Linked DNA regions of Homo sapiens: region 1 is linked to region 2. The links are contacts of gene promoters, found by promoter capture Hi-C in blood cells and fetal thymus (Javierre and others, 2016). All regions are on one chromosome and are shown on one strand. The core of a region is centred on a gene start or on the middle of the fragment in contact, and the rest is flanking DNA. Distances in the headings are between cores, read along the strand shown. Region 1 overlaps SPACA6 (sperm acrosome associated 6). Region 2 holds the start of SIGLEC10 (sialic acid binding Ig like lectin 10).

Region 1 (3,063 bases), core at 31-2,530, 280 kb before region 2:
AGTAGTCCCGGAAAGGGGCTCAGTTGGAGACGAAACCTTTCATCGAAGGGGCGGGGCCAGATCAAAAATGGTCCACGCGGGGAAATAGTCGTCCCTCAAGGTCTGAGGCTCAGAGATGGGGCCAGGGGATTGTACGGGGAGTGGATGGGGGGTCTCAGGAGTGGGTTTCGTTTTGAGATGGAGTCTTGCTCTGTCACCCAGGCTGGAGTGCCGATCTCGGGTCACTGCAACCCCGCCTCCAGGGTTCAAGCAATTTTCCTGCCTCAGCCTCCTGAGTAGATGAGATTACAAGCATGCGTTACCACGCCCAGCTAATTTTAGTATCTTTAGTAGATATGGGTATCACCATGTTGGTCAGACTGCTTTTGAACTCCTGATCTCAAGTGATCTGCCCGCCTCAGCCTTCCAAAGTGCTGGGATTACAGGCGTGAGCCACCATCCCCGGCCAAAAGTGGGGTTTTCTAATTGTGTGTGTGTGTGTCTGGGGAAGGAGAGATGGAGTGTATTTTACCTTCTTTAAGCTGTGTAATGACCTTCTTCATTTTCTCCGCAGCATCAGGGAAGGCAACCTCAAAGGATCCTGGAGAGTGGAGGGGAGGACGGCCTGTGTAGTAAAGCCCTTCCCCCAGGGCTTGGTCCTTGGTCCTGCATTCTGATCTAGCCTGGCTAGGGCTAGGCTGGCCCTAGCTCACAGGACGTACTGTCATGGTATCTGCCCTTCCCTGGCCCCTCTTCACCCCTCTCATTACCATATTCTCTGCTCCTCTTCTCATCACCCGCCCTCTGTAGTTGAAGGCTAACAAGTCCCTAAGTCTCCTTTCTTCTGCCTCCTGAATCTCTCCAGGATGGAAGTCCTCCTGGACATCACCTGCATGTAGCTTGTTGGGGGGAGAAGGGGAGGATAAAGATCAAATTCCTCACCAAGGCCTATTAGGTCTTACATGGTTTGGCCTAGTTCCCCCTCCCTCCCTGTCCCATCCCTACTGCCCACCTTTCATTTCCTTTATTTTATTTTATTCAGACAGTGTCTCACTGTCACCCAGGCTGGAGTGCAGTGGTGCGATCTCGGCTCACCGCAACCTCCGCCTCCTGGGTTCAAGTGATTCTCCTGCCCTAGCCTCCCGAGTAGCAGGGACTGCAGGTGTGCACCACCACGCCTGGCTAATTTTTGTGTTTTTAGTAGAGATGGGGTTTCACCATGTTGGCCAGGCTGGTCTCGAACTCCTGACCTCAAGTGATCCACCCACCTCAGCCTCCCAAAGTGCTGGGGTTACAGGCATGAGCCACCGTGCCTGGCCTCATTTCCTTTAATATGAAAACCACCACATTCCCTAGCACCTCAGGGCCTTTGCACATGCTGGCTTGTTTTTAGCACATTTTTCCTTCTCCTAATCATCCTTCCATCACCACAAATCTAACCAAGTTCCCTGTTTTTGTCTCTCATCGCAATCATTTCATTCCTAGCTCTCATCTGTCTGCAATTACATATATTTATATATAGATGATGATCACTTATGTCTGTCTCGTAAGTAAATAAACATGTTCTTCTGTAGCACTGTGTCCTCTGGATCCTGGAGAGGGCCCTCAGTCTTAGAAGTGCTCAGTAAGTATTTGTACAATGAATTCCAGGATCCAACTTGAACTGGAGACCCCAGCTGGTGGCCTATGACCCAAATCCATCCCTGGGATGTGTTATATTTGGCCTGGAAAGTGTTTAAAAGAAAATGAACCAGTTGCCAACATATAAAATTTGGAATGTCAAATAAAACGTTTGGCATCTCTTTTTTACAAAGTTGGAAGAGCTGTAACACAGAGATCGCATTTCCATAAGGCAGCAATTAGCTGGAGATGGGTAGCAGTCACTCCCTTGAAATGGGGCACACACCGGCCACTTCTCCATAGTCCCCAGCCTCTATTCACTTCTATATTTACCCATCTTTTACTCTTTTATGTTCCTTGTCTTTGTAGGTGTTTGTTTTGTTTTGAGATAGAGTCTCGCTCTGTTGCCCAGGCTGGCGTACAGTGGTGTGATCTTGGCTCACTGCAACTTCCACCTCCCAGGTTCAAGTGATTCTCCTGCCTCAGCCTCCCCAGTAGCTAGGATTACAGGCACCCACCACCATGCTCGGCGAATTTTTATATTTTTAGTAGAGATGGGGTTTCACCATGTTGGCCAGGCTGGTCTCAAACTCCTAACCTCAGGTGATCCGCCTGCCTCGGCCTCCCAAAGTGCTGGGATTACAGGTGTGGGCCACCATGCCTGGCCTTGTGTTTTGACCACTGCAATGGCCTCCAAATTGTATGGGTTTGTGGCTTGTTCCAGTGGAATAAGAATAGACAGCTGACTTGATCTCGTGGTGATTTGTGGAAATCAGTAATGTGGCAGGGTTTTATCGGCTAAATCGTGCCGCCCACCCCCCATCCCCCGCAACCAAACTTGTATGTTGAAGTCCTAACTCCCAGTACCTCAGAATGTGACTGTACTTGGTTCTTAAAGAGGTGATTAAGTTAAAATGAGGTCATTAGGGTGGGCTGTAATGCAGTATGATTGGTGTCCTTATGAGAAGAGGAAATTAGGACACAGAGATGCACACAGGGACATATGAAGGAAGGCATCTACAAGCCAAAGAGAGAGGCGTGAGAAGAAACTAACCCTGCTGACACCAAAACCTTGGTCTCAGACTTCTAGAAGGCAGAAACTTCTGTTGTTCGAGTCACCCAGTCTACGGTACTTTGTTACAGTGGTCCTAGCAAACCAACACACAGGAATTGTTCACTGCCTCCAAATACCTATATATCTATAACCTATATCCACAGAACACAGATAAAAAGCTTCATCTCCCAGCCTTCCTTGCAGTTGTGGTCATGTGACCAAGTTGTAGCCATAGGATGCAAATGGATGTGTTATGTGAGTCACAGGAGGTGGCCTTAAAAGGGAGGTGGTACCGCACCTGGAATCACAGCTACTCGGGAGGCTGAGGTGACAGGATCACTTGAGGCCAGGAGTTCGAGACAAGCCTGGGCAACATATCCAGACACCATCTCTAAACAAATTTTTATAAA
Region 2 (2,944 bases), core at 251-2,750:
ATCTCCTCCAGGAGGCCTCTCCTGACTTCCCTCCACCAGGAAGAGCTGACCACTCCTTCCCCAGGTCCCATCCTGAATGTCTGTCCAGCATCCAGTTCATTTAGGGGACCTTCTGTACTTTGTTTCTAAGAATCTTCATTTGCTAACCTGGGGCCCTGGAGCTGACTCACCATGGAGGATTCACCTCCAAGTCCCCCTAAAGCTCAGTGCTTGATACCCAAGGTATGTGGAGGTTGAAGGATGAGTTCTGTGTTTCGGTGTGACCCAAACAGAGTCATTTCAGGAAGAGCTCAGTGAGGGGAAAACATCTTGTAGAGTTTACTCCATTCATTGCAAATTACCCCTTCCCTAGTCTGTTCCCCCCACTCTGCCCCTCACTCCCGCCTTCCTCAAACTCTTCCCATCAGCATTAGCTTTGGACATATGTGTTCTAATCCCAATGGGTGTCCCAATTGAATGACAGAGGAGGAAGGGAGACTGGGAAGTGGACTAGGGCCTGGTTGGGGCAGGAGACTGCTTCTGGGGACCAAGGGTCAGTGAGCTCACCAGGAAGCATGAAGAGGTGGAGCTGACACCACCCTACGGTGGCCAGATTTAGAAAAAAAGAAATTCAACATGCTCAGTTAAATTTGAATTTTAGGCCAGGTGCGGTGGTTCACACCTGTAATCTCAGCACTTTGGGAGGTCAAGGCAGGTGGATCATTTGAGGTCAGGAGTTCAAAACCAGCCCTGCCAACATGGTGAAACCCCACCTCTACTAAAAATACAAAAATTAGCTTGGCGTGGTGGCGCGTGCCTGTAAGCCCAGACTCAGGAGGCTGAGGCAGGAGAATCACTTCAGCCTGGGAGGTGGAGGTTGCAGTAAGCAGAGATTGCACCACTGCACTGCAGCCTGGGTGACAGAGTGAGACTCTGTCTCAAAATATAATTAATTAATTAATTAATTTGAATTTCAGATAAATTTATTTTGCTTTCTGGTATAAGTATATCCCATGCAGCATTTCGGACATACTTATACCAAAAAACATAAAATAAAATACTTTATATTGTCTGTGAAAGCTTTAACCAGGCATCCTGCATTTTACCTGACAAGACCAGCCCCCTCCAGTAACGGTCCCTTCCCCTGTACCCACCACCTCCACCACCAGTGGCCCAGATAAGGGTAGCTCACTGTGGACTTCTCACTTCTGCTTTTCCGATGACCCAGGGCCCAGAGGGAGAGCCCCCACCCCACTACCCCACCCCCAGCCAGGCCCCCAGGATAGACACAAGCCTGCCCTCTCCTCCTACACAGGGAGCTCTGGAAGGACCAGCTCAACAAGCCCAAGGCCAGGCTGGGCCCCCAGGAGACCCAGAGGACAACTGGGCAAGGTGGGCCGGAGAGTGTGGGGGAAGGCAAAGGAGTTCTGTGAGCTCAGCGTCTGAAGCTCATTTCATGCATCAGGCCCCAGGGCTCAGCTTCCGCCTTCGGCTTCCCCTTCTGCCAAGAGCCCTGAGCCACTCACAGCACGACCAGAGAACAGGCCTGTCTCAGGCAGGCCCTGCGCCTCCTATGCGGAGATGCTACTGCCACTGCTGCTGTCCTCGCTGCTGGGCGGTGAGTGGGCCAAGGGCCGGAAAGGACCTGGGGCGGAGCTAGGGCTGGGGTTGCAGGTTGAGCCTCTGTCTCCCCACAGGGTCCCAGGCTATGGATGGGAGATTCTGGATACGAGTGCAGGAGTCAGTGATGGTGCCGGAGGGCCTGTGCATCTCTGTGCCCTGCTCTTTCTCCTACCCCCGACAGGACTGGACAGGGTCTACCCCAGCTTATGGCTACTGGTTCAAAGCAGTGACTGAGACAACCAAGGGTGCTCCTGTGGCCACAAACCACCAGAGTCGAGAGGTGGAAATGAGCACCCGGGGCCGATTCCAGCTCACTGGGGATCCCGCCAAGGGGAACTGCTCCTTGGTGATCAGAGACGCGCAGATGCAGGATGAGTCACAGTACTTCTTTCGGGTGGAGAGAGGAAGCTATGTGAGATATAATTTCATGAACGATGGGTTCTTTCTAAAAGTAACAGGTATGGAATGGGGTGGGAACCCCTGCCTCTCACACTGGGGAGGGACCCTGGGGACAGCCTATGGGCTGAGCAGAGAGGGCTCTCAGGGACCCCTGCAGCACAAGAATCTCCCACCACGGTCTCTGTCCCAGCCCTGACTCAGAAGCCTGATGTCTACATCCCCGAGACCCTGGAGCCCGGGCAGCCGGTGACGGTCATCTGTGTGTTTAACTGGGCCTTTGAGGAATGTCCACCCCCTTCTTTCTCCTGGACGGGGGCTGCCCTCTCCTCCCAAGGAACCAAACCAACGACCTCCCACTTCTCAGTGCTCAGCTTCACGCCCAGACCCCAGGACCACAACACCGACCTCACCTGCCATGTGGACTTCTCCAGAAAGGGTGTGAGCGCACAGAGGACCGTCCGACTCCGTGTGGCCTGTGAGTGTGGCCTGGGAGGGTGGGGTGTGCAGACAGCCCCGGTGGGTGGGGAGGTGGAGGAGCCCAGTGGGACAGTGAGCGGCTCCCAGCTCAGGAGCATCCAGGGAGAGGAAGCTGTGGGGTCCCAGGATGCCGCCGCAGCCCTGGGAGGGGGATGGGAATGGCGTCTGGTCCACACACGTGAGCCCTGGCGCTGGTTGTCACTTGTCTTCCCGGGATAGTCCCACTTTCTTTTCCCTGAGGGAGTTTTTTCCAGGTGTGAGGAATAAATTGTCCCTCCCTGAAGCCAGCTCACAATCTTGTTGCAGATGCCCCCAGAGACCTTGTTATCAGCATTTCACGTGACAACACGCCAGGTACTGAGGGCCGTCGGGCTGGGGCTGGGCCAGTTGTCTTTAGATGAAAAGGCTTCAGGGGATGAGGGGATGTGCTCCTCCCTGTACCCCTTCTCTCTTTCTCCCTCCCTTT

Evidence for each region. Contacts are between HindIII fragments. The CHiCAGO score rates a contact against its expected background, and 5 or more counts as called.
Region 1: a contact is called between a fragment that was not itself captured here and the fragment with the promoter of SIGLEC10 in region 2, in 1 of 17 cell types (erythroblasts). The highest score is 5.1, in erythroblasts.

The regions. Positions count from the first base shown.
Region 1 is chr19:51,699,175-51,702,237 of GRCh38, reverse strand. SPACA6 (sperm acrosome associated 6) reads right to left here. Exons shown (of 9, transcript NM_001316972.2): 3 at 512-580. Among named protein-coding and RNA genes, the nearest start is that of SPACA6-AS1, 7.2 kb to the right of the region's middle. The HindIII fragment of the contact is 3,108 bases long and covers 1-2,834 here.
Region 2 is chr19:51,416,198-51,419,141 of GRCh38, reverse strand. It overlaps SIGLEC10 (sialic acid binding Ig like lectin 10), which reads left to right and starts at 1,500. Exons shown (of 11, transcript NM_033130.5): 1 at 1,500-1,597; 2 at 1,677-2,060; 3 at 2,192-2,476; 4 at 2,785-2,832. The coding sequence starts at 1,561. It overlaps SIGLEC10-AS1 (SIGLEC10 antisense RNA 1), which reads right to left. Exons shown (of 3, transcript NR_164125.1): 2 at 2,412-2,713; 3 at 945-2,010. RefSeq lists enhancers at 1,271-1,340, 1,401-1,570. The HindIII fragment of the contact is 3,908 bases long and covers 1,062-2,944 here.